Regions from separate parts of the Homo sapiens genome. Here region 1 is linked to region 2. Evidence: promoter capture Hi-C in human tissues and cell types (Jung and others, 2019). All regions are on one chromosome and are shown on one strand. Each heading gives the region's core, a stretch centred on a gene start or on the middle of the fragment in contact. The rest is flanking DNA. Distances are from core to core; before and after follow the strand shown.

Region 1 (5,929 bases), core at 1,707-4,206, 68 kb before region 2:
CAAAAGCCATATAATATTATTATTCTTTTGATTTTTAGAAACTGTTTAAAAATGTAAAGACCATTCTTAGCTCACAACCATACAAAAGCAGATGGCTGGCTAGATTTTGCCTGGAGGCCATAGTTTGCCAACCCCCACCTTAAAGCAACCACTAACATAACAAAAAGAGGAATATCTAATAAGCAAACAAAAGAAATAAAATGAGGCCGGGCGCGGTGGCTCACGCCTGTAATCCCAGCACTTTGGGAAGCCGAGGCGGGCGGATCACAAGGTCAGGAGATCAAGACCACGGTGAAACCCCGTCTCTACTAAAAATACAAAAAAAATTAGCCAGGCGAAGTGGCAGGTGCCTGTAGTCCCAGCTACTCGGGAGGCTGAGGCAGGAGAATGGCATGAACCTGGGAGGCGGAGCTTGCAGTGAGCCGAGATTGCACCACTGCACTCCAGCCTGGGTGACAGAGCGAGACTCCATCTCAAAAAAAAAAAAAGAAATAAAATGAAAAACACTATACAGAAGGAGCAGGATTGAAAAAAAAGTAACAAAAACTATACCCAATAAAAGGCAAAAAGGAGGGAGGAAAAAGAAAACATAGGTAAGTAGAATATATATAATAGACATGGGATAAATTTACACAATCATATCAATATCAAATTAAATGTAAATGGTCTAAACACTAATTAAAAGGCAGAGACTGTCTGGGCACAGTGGTTCATCCCTGTAACCCAGCACTTTGGGAGGCCAAGGTGGGAAGAATGCTTGAGCTCAAGAGTTTGAGACCACAGCTGCACACAGTGGCTCACACCTGTAATCCCAGCACTCTGAGAGGCCACAGCGGGTGGATCACCTGAGGTCAGGAGTTTGAGACCAGCCTGGCCAACATGGTGAAACTGCTGTTGCTACTAAAAATACAAAAATTAGCCAGGTGTGGGGGCACGTGCCTGTAATCCCAAATTTGGGAGGCTGAGGCAGTAGAACTGCTTAAACCCAGGAGTCAGAGGTTTCAGCGAGCAGAGATAGTGCCACTATACTCCAGCCTGGGTGACAGAACAAGACTCTGTCTCAAAAAAAAAAAAAGAGTTTGAGAACATAGGGGGACAAAAAAATTTAAAAATTTGCCAGGCATGGTGGCATGTGCCTGTGGTCCCAGCTACTCAGGAGGCTGAGGTGCAAGGATCACTTGAGCCAGGAGGTTGTGGCTATAGTAAGCCATGATCATGCCACTGCACTCCAGCCTGGGCGACAGAGTGAGACTTCGTTTCAAAAAAAAAAGTCAGAACAGAGACCAATTGAATAGAAAGTAAAAAAAAATTAATGAAACCAAAATTAATTAATGAAATTTAATGAAAATTAACGAGACTATAAAGCTGGTTGAGATCAATATTCAGTGCCTCCTGGATCAGGCCCTGCTTGCATCACTGGGCATACAGCAGTAAACACAACAGACAAAAAACCCAGTACAATCCCTCATCTGGGCCTTTGCAACTGCAGTTCCTTCTCCTTGAAATGCTCTTATCTTGTTTATCTATTGCCTCATTTTCCTGCTTTATTTTTCTCCAAAGTACTTAACTACCTCTGACTTTATTTCCTTTTCTTACTTTCTATGTTTCTTTCTTTCTGCGTGTCTTTCTTTGTTTCTTCCTGTCTTTCCATTTCTTTCCTTCCTTGTGGTCTTATCAATCTGTTTATTTAGCTCCACTAAAATGTATGCTCCACAAGGGCTTAAGTTTTTGTTTGTTTTCTTCACTGCCTTTATCACTAGCACCTAAACGGAGCCTGGAACGTGGTAATGTGTAAAGAATATTTGTTTAACAGATGAATCCTTGGTCTCATGGAGCTAACATTCTTTTTTTTAATTTTCCTATTTTTTTACTTTAATTAGGAATTCAACATAGAAGAGCTTACATTCTCTCTCTTTGAATTTAAGATTTGAAGAACACTGCTCAGAAGACAGGATCTTAGAGTCAGGGACCAAGTATTAATTTCGGAAATCAAACTCTAGGGCTCAAATCGGGAACTAAGAATCAAAGATCATATTTGGAGGTTAGAAGTCAGGAGAAGCCACAGTTCTAACAGAAGTCTCAGGACTGGAGTCAGGTTTGGGTATCAGTGGATACAATGTGGATTCCAGGAGCTGAGAATCATAGTTCAAGAAAAGAAGGTAAGAAATGATTGGGTTAGGATCATAGCTAGATAGAAGATTGGTTTTGTTAAAAGTTAGGACTCGGGGGTTAGAGGTCAGGAAGTTCAGCATCGGAAGTCAGATTTAGGAGTATGAGGTTAGGAAGCCTCAGGGATCAGAGATTAATGAGGAATGTGACGCCGGGTCCTAGGGCTCCGTTTGGCAGCCTAAGGTTCACTCACGTGTCCCCATCCTCAGTGACGTAGCCGAAGACGAGGGGAGCCCACGACAGCCCCGGGCCCAACTCCGCGCCCAACCCAGGTCCTCCGGGGGCCGCTGCGTCCGGACCCAGGGAGCCCAGGCCGCTGTCGCACCATTCATCTGCGTCGGCAGCTTTTCCCAAGCACGCGACCCCAGCCATGGCCCCCGCCGCCTCAGGGGCCCCCCGCAGTCGCCCGCCTGTAGCTGGGCTTTGCCGGGAGTTCTGGAGCTTCCGCCCTGCGGGAAATTCCCCACCACGCCCCCTGATTCACCCAATGATAATATGCTGAATCGCTCACACCCCGCCCTCGTACTGCATCCTGACCAATCAGAGTATTCGGGAGGACTACAACTCTCTAGCCGTTCCCACATTTTCCGGGCGCCCTTTACCAACATGGCTGCTGACGCCACGCCTTCTGGGACTCGTAGTCCGGTCCTCGCGCGCTTTCTTACCTAACTGGGGCGCTCTGGGTGTTGTACGAAAGCGCGTCTGCGGCCGCAATGTCTGCTGAGAGTTGTAGTTCTGTGCCCTATCACGGCCACTCCCATTTCTGGTGCCGTCACGGGACAGAGCAGTCGGTGACAGGACAGAGCAGTCGGTGACGGGACACAGTGGTTGGTGACGGGACAGAGCGGTCGGTGACAGCCTCAAGGGCTTCAGCACCGCGCCCATGGCAGAGCCAGACCGTGAGTCGGGGATCCGGGTAGGAGGGTCGGGCCGCGCCGGGGCCTGGCTGAATGCTGCAGGCCCCGGGGCCCAAGGGTGGCCGCGGTGGGGCGGGAAGTAGGGAGCGCTTCGGGGAGTGGGATTCTGAGGGCTGTTGCTTAGCGATCTGTATCGCTAGGCTGGTGGGTTTCTGGGTCGCAGTGTGTTCAGGGTTCGTTTACCACATCCACTTGCCAAGTTGCCAATGATCGCGTGTTTCTCGCACCTTGGTTGCTAAGGTCCCTCGCTGCAAAGAACATAAGTTGCCCCGGTCCCGCTTGCTATGGGTACCTGATTGTTAGAGGCAACCAGAGGATGCTGAGGGACCCCTGCTGACCCCTCCTATGGCTTCCCCTTGTTCCGCGCCTCTCCTAAACCTACCGCCTCCACTGCACCACTGCACCTCCCTCCTAAACCTGCCTCCCAGCCAAAGCGTCTCTTCCCTTCTCTTTTCCTTTCTAAACTTCCCTCTGCCTTGTAAATCTAACCCTCCCCGCACACACACTCACACACTGTCGTGTCCTTCCTAACTCCTCCTGAGTGTTCCTTCATGCCCTGAATCCCCTAGGTAGGAGGAGGAGGATCGCTTGAGCCCAGGAATTTGAGGCTGCAGTGAGCTATGATCGCACTATTGCACTCCAACCTGGGTGACATGAGCGAGACCCTTTCTCTAAAAAGTAAAAAAGAAAGAAAGTAAGTCAGGGCCAGAAACAATGGCTCATGCTTGTAATCCCAGTACTTTGGGAGGCCAAGGTGGTTGGATCGCTTGAGCCCAGGAGTTCAAGACCAGCCTGGGCAAAAGCCCCTACTTTCTCCCTGTCCCCCTAAATCTTCCTCTCCAGCCTCTCTGCCCCTCACTAATCACCTCTCCCGGCATCACTTTGCATGTAGATAAGATCTTTTCTCCGTCCCCTCCCTCCCTCTGCTCCATTTTTACCACCATCCCATCCCAGTGTAACTAGGTTGGTGGGTGTTCTTGCCCCCTCACTGACCATTTGAACCCCTTTATTCCCCCCTTAATCGTTCTCCCCACTGTAACCACCTCTGCTCCCCTCCCCCAGCCTCTCACCCTCTGGAGACCCAGGCAGGGAAGGTGCAGGAGGCTCAGGTGAGATGGGGGAAAGGGTGGAGGGGAGGAGAGAGACGGACTTGTTCCACATCCCACACTGGGGGGAGGTGGCAAAGGGGAAACAGTCACCCCAGGGCCCTCGGCTCATTGCCCCAATCCCTCACACCACCCAGTGCAGCTTTCTGGGGAAAGGCAGATTCTGGGGATTGTCAGAGAAGAGTTTCCAGCCTCAAGTCCAGGCCTGTCCTCCCAAACTTTCCTTCTTCCTTGCCACTGCCTGCCATCCCTTCTGAACCACATTTGTCCTGGGACTGGAAGAGACAGGTATCCCATTTGGTCTTGGAACGCACAGATCTCGTGGACAAGTGATGGGAAAAAATGATCTCACAGCGTGATGACGAAAGTAACTCAGGGGGCCAGATGCAGTGGCTTATGCCTGTAATTCCAATAACTCAGGAGACTGAGGCGCGAGGATCGCTTGAGCCCAGGAGTTTGAGGCTGCAGTGAGCTATGATTGCATCACTGCACTCCAGCCGGGGTGAAAGAGCAAGACCCTTTCTCTAAAAAGTAAAAAAGAAAGAAAGTAACTCAGGGCCAGACACAGTGGCTCATGCTTGTAATCCCAGTACTTTGGGAGGCTGAGGTAGGAGGATCGCTTGAGCCCAGGAGTTCCAGACCAGTCTTGGCAACATAGGGAGGCCCCCACCTCTACAAAATATTTAAAAATTAGCCATGTGTAGTGGTGCATGCCTGCATTGCCAGCTACTCAGGAGGCTGAGTTGGGGGAGGATTGCTTAAGCCCAGGAGGTTAAGGCCGTAGTGTGCCTTGACTGTGCCACTGCACCCCAACCGGGGCGACAGAGCAAAACACGGTCTCAAAAAAAAAAAAAGGAAGAAAAGTAAAGAAACTCAGGGTACTGTGGGAGCACAGAGAAAATTTTCTGGGTCAAAGAAGATTCTAGCCAGGCCATTCCCTGGAGGAATCCACAGGCTGGTCTAGCTGTCAGACCAAGATACAGACACAGCATAAGTGAAGAGTGACTTAGAATTTTCTTAGACAAGGTGAGAAATGGTGATCCACACAACAGGTATCGCTTGTGCAAAGACCTGGGGGGCATGAAGGGGTGTGATGTGTTCCATAATTGGGTGGCTGGTGGTGGTCAGCTTGTTATAGTCGTGGTTAGCATTTACTGACGGCTTACTAAAGCTGGGCCCACTGTTTAGTGCCAAACGTGCCTCATCTCAATTTCATCTTCCTGGCATCCCTGTGAAGAGAAACGCCTATCACGGCCATTTTACAGATGCAGAATCTGAGGCAGAGTTGTTAAGTCACTTATCCCCCGTCCCTCGGCTACAGGAGCAGGGAAGGGTTTGAGTCCCCCAGCACTGGGCACGCCACCTGTCAGAGGCTGCCAGGAGAGGTGGACAGGCAGTCTCATAGGAGCTTGAAGGCCCCCGTCAGCACCTCCGGCTCTCCCTTAGGCCAAGCTGCAGACACATGCTGGGCACAGGCCTTCCACACAGCCTCACTGTGTACAGCCTGAAAGAGTGCCAGCCCACCCACACCCCTGAGATTGCCTTTCAGACGTGGGGTGGTGCAGAAGCGGGCATCAGAATACCTCACAAATGCACAGTGGAGCTTTGCTAAGGATATAAGAGCCTCCTGTTAGGCTGTGGCAACTCACTCGCCTGGCTCCCAAAGCACGACCACTGTCAGAGAAAAAGGTTGAATGTTAAAAAGGATCCTCAGTCCCAAAGAGAGAGAGGCGAGGA
Region 2 (5,966 bases), core at 3,039-5,538:
GGGCAGCATGGTGAAACGTCACTACAAAAAGGTGGGTTTGGTGGAACACCTGTAGTCCCAGCTACTCGGGAGGCTGAGGCAGGTGGGTCAGTTGAGCCTAGGAGGTTAACAGTGCAGTGATCACATCACTGCACTCCAACCTGGGTGACAATGAGACCCTATCTCAAAAAAAAAAAGGTTTCCAGCCTTGCCATCATGGTGAAACCCTGTCTCTACTAAAAATACAAAAATCAGCCGGGCATAGTGGCGCATGCCAGTAGTCCCAGCTACCTAGCAGGCTGAGGTGGATCACCCCAACCCTGGAGGGTGATGCTGCAGTGAACTGTGATGGGGTCATTGCACCCCAGCCTGGGCAACAGGGTGTCAAAAAAACCCAAAACCTTTGTGTTCTGTATCATTTCAGAGTGACTTGTCTTTACCCTTGCAGTATCATTGTGTGGATGTGTCATGATTTAACCTGGTCCCAAAGGGTAGTTTCCAGGTCTATTTTTGCTATTGCAAACAGCGCTGTAACACGTATCTACACAAGTATCTTGGCCAGCTTCCCTGATACTGATCAGGAGATAAATTCCTGCCAGTGGAATTGCTGGGTTAAAGGATATATATAGCTGGATGTAGTGGCCCATGCCTGTAATCCCAGCACTTTGGGAAGCCAAGGCAGGCAGATCACTTAAGGCCGGGAGTTTTGAGACCTGGGCAACATGGCAAAACCCTGTCTACAAAAAATAAGAAAGTGGGCCGGGCATGGTGGCTCACGCCTGTAATCCCAGCACTTTGGGAGGCCGAGGTGAGCGGAACACTTACGGTCAGGAGTTCGAGACCAGCCTGGCCAACATGGTGAAACCCTGTCTCTACTAAAAAAATAAAAATTAGCCGGGCATGGTGGCACGTTCCTGTAGTCACAGCTACTCAGGAGGCTGAGGCAGGAGAATCGCTGGAACCCAGGAGGCAGAGGTTGCAGTGAGCCGAGATTGTGCCATTGCACTCCAGCCTGAGTGACGAGAGTGAAACTCCGTCTCGAGAAAAAAATATATAGAAAAATGATGTGGGCATGGTGGCACACACTGTGCCTATAGTCCCAGCTACTCATGGGGGCTGAAGCAGGAGGATCACTTGAGCTGTGAGCTGTGATGGCACCACTATACTCCATCCTGGGCGAAAGGGCGAGACCATGTCTCAAAACTTAAAGGATCTATATAATTGCATCATACGGTAGATAGCTTCCCACTTGCAGATGCAAATCTGTGAAGATGCCTTGCGGTGGCGGGTACCACCCGGAAGGATCCTGGTTTAAGGATTTTGACTCCTACTGGAGGGAAGAGGTGACCTGCAGAGGAGCAGGTCACAAACCTTGAAGTTTATGCATGTGTGCTTGAGAATAGCCCACTCTGGGGAATTTACTGTGAATAAAATTTTCTTTTTTGAGATGGAGTCTTGCTCTGTCACCCAGGCTGGAGTGCAATGGCATAATCTTGGCTCACTGCAACCTCTGCCTCCTGGTTCAAGCAATTCTCCTGCCTCAGCCTCCCAAGTAGCTGGGATTACAGGCATGTGCCACCATGCCTGGCTGATTTTTGTATTTTTAGTAGAGATGGGGTTTCACCATATTGGCTAGGCTGGTCTCGAACTCCTGAGATCCACTGGCCTCGGCCTCCCAAAGTAGCTATGATACAGGCATGAGCCACTGCGCCCGGCCTTACATTTTTAACATTTAATGACATCACAAAAGCATCATTTGGCAGATGAACAAGTTTTGCTTCACTATGGGAAGTTTCAAACAATCTTTAGACAAGGAAAAACTACAGTCATCTTGCAGCCATAAATAAAATCAACTAGGGTTTATTGTTTTTAAGCCAGTCAAGGTGATAAAAAGTGAATTTTACCAGTTTGTCTCCTAGCATCCAATTTCATTTCCTGTTACCAGTTTGAGTCTCCTTCCAGAGATATTACATACATACACCATATTCTGTGCAGGTCCAGCTACACTCTTTTTTTTGAGACATTGTCTCACTCTGTCACCCAGGCTGAAGTGCTGGAGTGCAGTGGCATGAGGTCAGCTCACTGCAAACTCTGCCTCCTGGGTTGAAGCAATTCTCCTGCCTCAGCCTCCCAAGTAGCTGGGATTACAGGCACCTGCCACCACGCCCCGCTAATTTTTTTTTTTTTTTAGACAGAGTCTTGCTCTGTGGCCCAGGCTGGAGTGCAGTGGCGTGATCTCACATCAGTGCAAGCTCCGCCTCCTGGGTTCACGCCATTCTCCTGCCTCAGCCTCCCGAATAGCTGGGACTACAGGCGCCCGCCACCACGCCCGGCTAATTTTTGGTATTTTTAGTAGAGATGGGGTTTCACCGTGTTAGCCAGGATGGTCTCGATCTTCTCACCTTGTGATCCACCCGCCTTGGCCTCCCAAAGTGCTGGGATTAGAGGCATGAGCCAACACGCCTGGCTAATTTTTATATTTTTAATAGAGATTGGGTTTCACCATGTTGGCCATGCTGGTCTCAAACTCCTGACCTGAGGTGATCTGCCTGCCTGGGCCTCCTAAAGTGCTGGGATTACAGACCTGAGCCACCGCACCCAGCCCAGCTATACTTTCTTACACCAAAGGAACAAAGGATCATACTAAATGTTCTATTACATCTTCACATTTTTTTCTCACACATTTTTATTTTTGCATAGAGGTTTCAGAGTTTTCTATGGTATAAACAGTCTACTGTTGATGGGTAGTTAATGGTTCTGTCTTTCAAAAGAGCCTGCTTTTCTAGTCTGTGAAAACACACAGGAGACAGGTTCATTAAGGAAAGATACTTCCTTCAATCTCACTGGCCCAGAGACATCTGTTCACCGCCTTGCTCAATGTCTCCCCAAAAAGCATACTTAAGCAGTTTTACAGTACTTTTTTTTTTTATTTTTTTGAGATGGAGTTTCGCTCTGTCCCCAGGCTGGAGTGCAGTGGCGCCATCTCGGCTCCCTGCGAGCTCCGCCTCCGGGGTTCACGCCATTCTCCAGCCTCAGCCTCCCCAGTAGCTGGGGCTACAGACGCCCGCCACCATGCCCGCTAAGTTTTTGTATTTTTTTAGTAGGGACGGGGTTTCACTGTGTTAGCTAGGTCAGGAGGTCGATCTCCTGACCTCGTGATCTGCCCGCCACGGCCTCCCAAAGTGCTGGGATTACAGGCGTGAGCCACCGCGCCCGGCCAGCAGTTTTACAGTACTTTTTATGCCTTTTGGTAGCTGGCTTTTCCCAAGGGAATTTCGGTTTTTTTGTTTTGTTTGTTTTTTTTAAGAACATGAACTTTTTTTTCTTCTTTTTTTTTTTTTTGAGATCTTGCTCTGTCGCCCAGGCTGGGGTACAGTGGTGCCATCTCTGCTCATTGCAACCTCCGCCTCCTGGGCTCAAGCCATTCTCTTCCCGCTAGGATTACAGGTGCCGGACACCGCACCCGGCTAATTTTTGTATTTTTAGTAGAGACGGGGTTTCGCCATGTTGACCAGGCTGCTGTTGAACTCCTGACCTCAGGTGATCCGCCTGCCTCGGCCTCCCAAAGTGCTTGTATTACAGGCGTGAGCCACTGCGCCAGGCTAAGAACATGAACTCTGGTGCCAGGTAATCCTGCTTTAGCCCTTCTGAAGCCCACCGACCTTGAACCTAGTGTCTTCCCGTGCCTGGGCCAGTTTCCTCTGCATATAGTAGGAAATAGTACGACCTCCTGGTGGGAGTTCATATTATACAGTCAGCGCTTAATGTTGGCCCGTCTGTACTCATTCCTTTACCTGAGTAAACTCACAGTACTGCAAGTTTTCTTTTATTTTTAGTTAACATGATATATACATGCATGATTACAAGCTCTGCTGCAATTATGTCCTTGGACATTTCAGCTGTCGCCTATTATTCCACCATTATGAAACAGCTGTGTGATGAACTTTAGCGGGAGCTGTTTGCTTTTCTGTTTTTTTTTTTGTTTGTTTGTTTTGTTTTTTTTAAGACGGAGTGTCGCTCGGTCGCCAGGCTGGAGAGCAATGGCGCGATCTCGGCTCACTGCAAACTCCGCCTCCCAGGTTCACGCCATTGCAGGAGCTATTTTCTTTGGCCAGGTTCCCACTGGGGCAAAGGGTCCATTTCTGAGCCTGGCTCTATGTAAGGCAACCGGAAATCGACTGCCCTTAGTAAAGATGGCGGAAAGAACGGCGTCATTGCCTGTCAGGTTGCGGCATCGGTGCCCTCGCTCAACATGGCGGCCTTCTGTGCCCGCCCCCTCCGCTAACGGGCACGTTACTCCGTCCGAACGCAGTAGACGAAGGCGGCGGCGATGGCGGCGGGGATAGTGGCTTCTCGCAGACTCCGCGACCTACTGACCCGGCGTGAGTCACCTCTTGCCTTATGGGGGTGCGTCGCGCTGTCGTGCTGTTATAGCAGATGTAGGACGGGGAGGGCTATCCGGGGTCACGAAGGGCCCGAGTCCCCTAAATTCAGGGGTGCGTGTGCTCCCTTTTGAAGGACTCCCTAATTCGATAGGCCTGTGTCTTGCAGTCTGGGGTCATCAAAGGCTGTTCCTTTCTCCCCAGGACTGACAGGCTCCAACTACCCGGGACTCAGTATTAGCCTTCGCCTCACTGGCTCCTCTGCACAAGAGGAGGCTTCCGGAGTAGCCCTCGGTGAAGCCCCAGACCACAGCTATGAGTCCCTTCGTGTGACGTCTGCGCAGAAACATGTTCTGCATGTCCAGCTCAACCGGCCCAACAAGAGGAATGCCATGAACAAGGTCTTCTGGAGGTCTGACCTGCAGATCCTGGAGGCCTGCCTGCGGGGGGAGGCGGGGCTGCGGGACTGGGTGAAAGTGGAACGTTGTGGGAAGATGGACATGAGGGCAGGGTATTCCCGCCCCATTTGTAACCCTTCACTCGTTGCTTCACAGAGAGATGGTAGAGTGCTTCAACAAGATTTCGAGAGACGCTGACTGTCGGGCGGTGGTGATCTCTGGTGCAGGAAAAATGTTCACTGCAGGTACCAGACGCTCTTCACACACCCTGCCAGCCTTCCTAGCTCCTGGCAATAGACAGTGGAGCAGTGCTTCTGAATTAGGGTTTTAAGCAGCTTCTGACTTACACACTTTTTTTTTTTTTTTTTGAGACGGGGTCTTGCTCTGTTGCCACGCTGGAGTGCAGTAGCGCAATCTCAGCTCACTGCAACCTCCACCTCCCGGGTTCAAGCAATTCTTCTGTCTGGGACTACAGGCGTGGGCCACCACACCCAGCTAATTTTTGTATTTTTAGTAGAGACGGGGTTTCACCATATTGGCCAGGATGGTCTCCATCTCCTGACGTTATGATCTGCCTGCCTCAGCCTCCCAAAGTGCTGGGATTATAGGCCTGAACCATTGCTCCTGGCCCCTAACTCACACTTTTATCTGTGTGTTTTTTTTTTTTTTTTTGGAGACAATATCTTTCTCTGTCACCCAGGCTGGAGTACAGTTGCCTAATCATAAATCACTGTAACCTCAAATACCTGAGGTCAAGCGATTCTCCCACCTCAGCCTGCCAAAATGCTGGGATTACAGGCAGGTGCCACCATGGCCAGCCCTATCATTTTTTTAAAAAAAGGCCTACTTTAAAACATTCAAATATAAGTATTAGTCTGACAGAACACGATGGGATCATAGGCTCTGAAGTCTAGGTTTCCATCCTGGATCTGTGGCCATGAACAACATGCTTAACCTCTCAGCCTATAGCTGTGTCAGCATATAATATAATAACATGCTTTCGTGCAACTATTCAACTCACTAATTGATTTCCAGTTACAGGTCAGTTGGATCTTTGGATTGACCCACTGACCTTTTCTTCAGATTGGAGAATTTCCACTGGTCACAGTTACTAACTGTTTAGTCATCTCTATCCTTCTGTAAAGCCCATCCAGTGATTTATTTTGTTTTATTTTGTTTCAGACGGAGTTTTGCTTTTGTTGCAATG

Evidence for each region. Contacts are between HindIII fragments. The study calls those that stand out against the background at their distance.
Region 1: a contact is called between the fragment with the promoter of SIRT2 here and the fragment with the promoter of ECH1 in region 2, in 2 of the 25 tissues and cell types used here (dorsolateral prefrontal cortex and spleen).

The regions. Positions count from the first base shown.
Region 1 is chr19:38,896,645-38,902,573 of GRCh38, reverse strand. It overlaps SIRT2 (sirtuin 2), which reads left to right and starts at 2,956. Exons shown (of 16, transcript NM_012237.4): 1 at 2,956-3,068; 2 at 4,149-4,195. The coding sequence starts at 3,053. NFKBIB (NFKB inhibitor beta) reads right to left here and starts at 2,605. Exons shown (of 6, transcript NM_002503.5): 1 at 2,363-2,605. The coding sequence starts at 2,541. The HindIII fragment of the contact is 18,718 bases long and covers 1-5,929 here.
Region 2 is chr19:38,830,116-38,836,081 of GRCh38, reverse strand. It overlaps ECH1 (enoyl-CoA hydratase 1), which reads left to right and starts at 4,288. Exons shown (of 10, transcript NM_001398.3): 1 at 4,288-4,361; 2 at 4,566-4,773; 3 at 4,916-5,004. The coding sequence starts at 4,310. The region is part of intron 1 of LOC124904712 (a long non-coding RNA gene); the gene reads right to left. RefSeq lists an enhancer at 4,240-4,389. The HindIII fragment of the contact is 9,746 bases long and covers 1-4,393 here.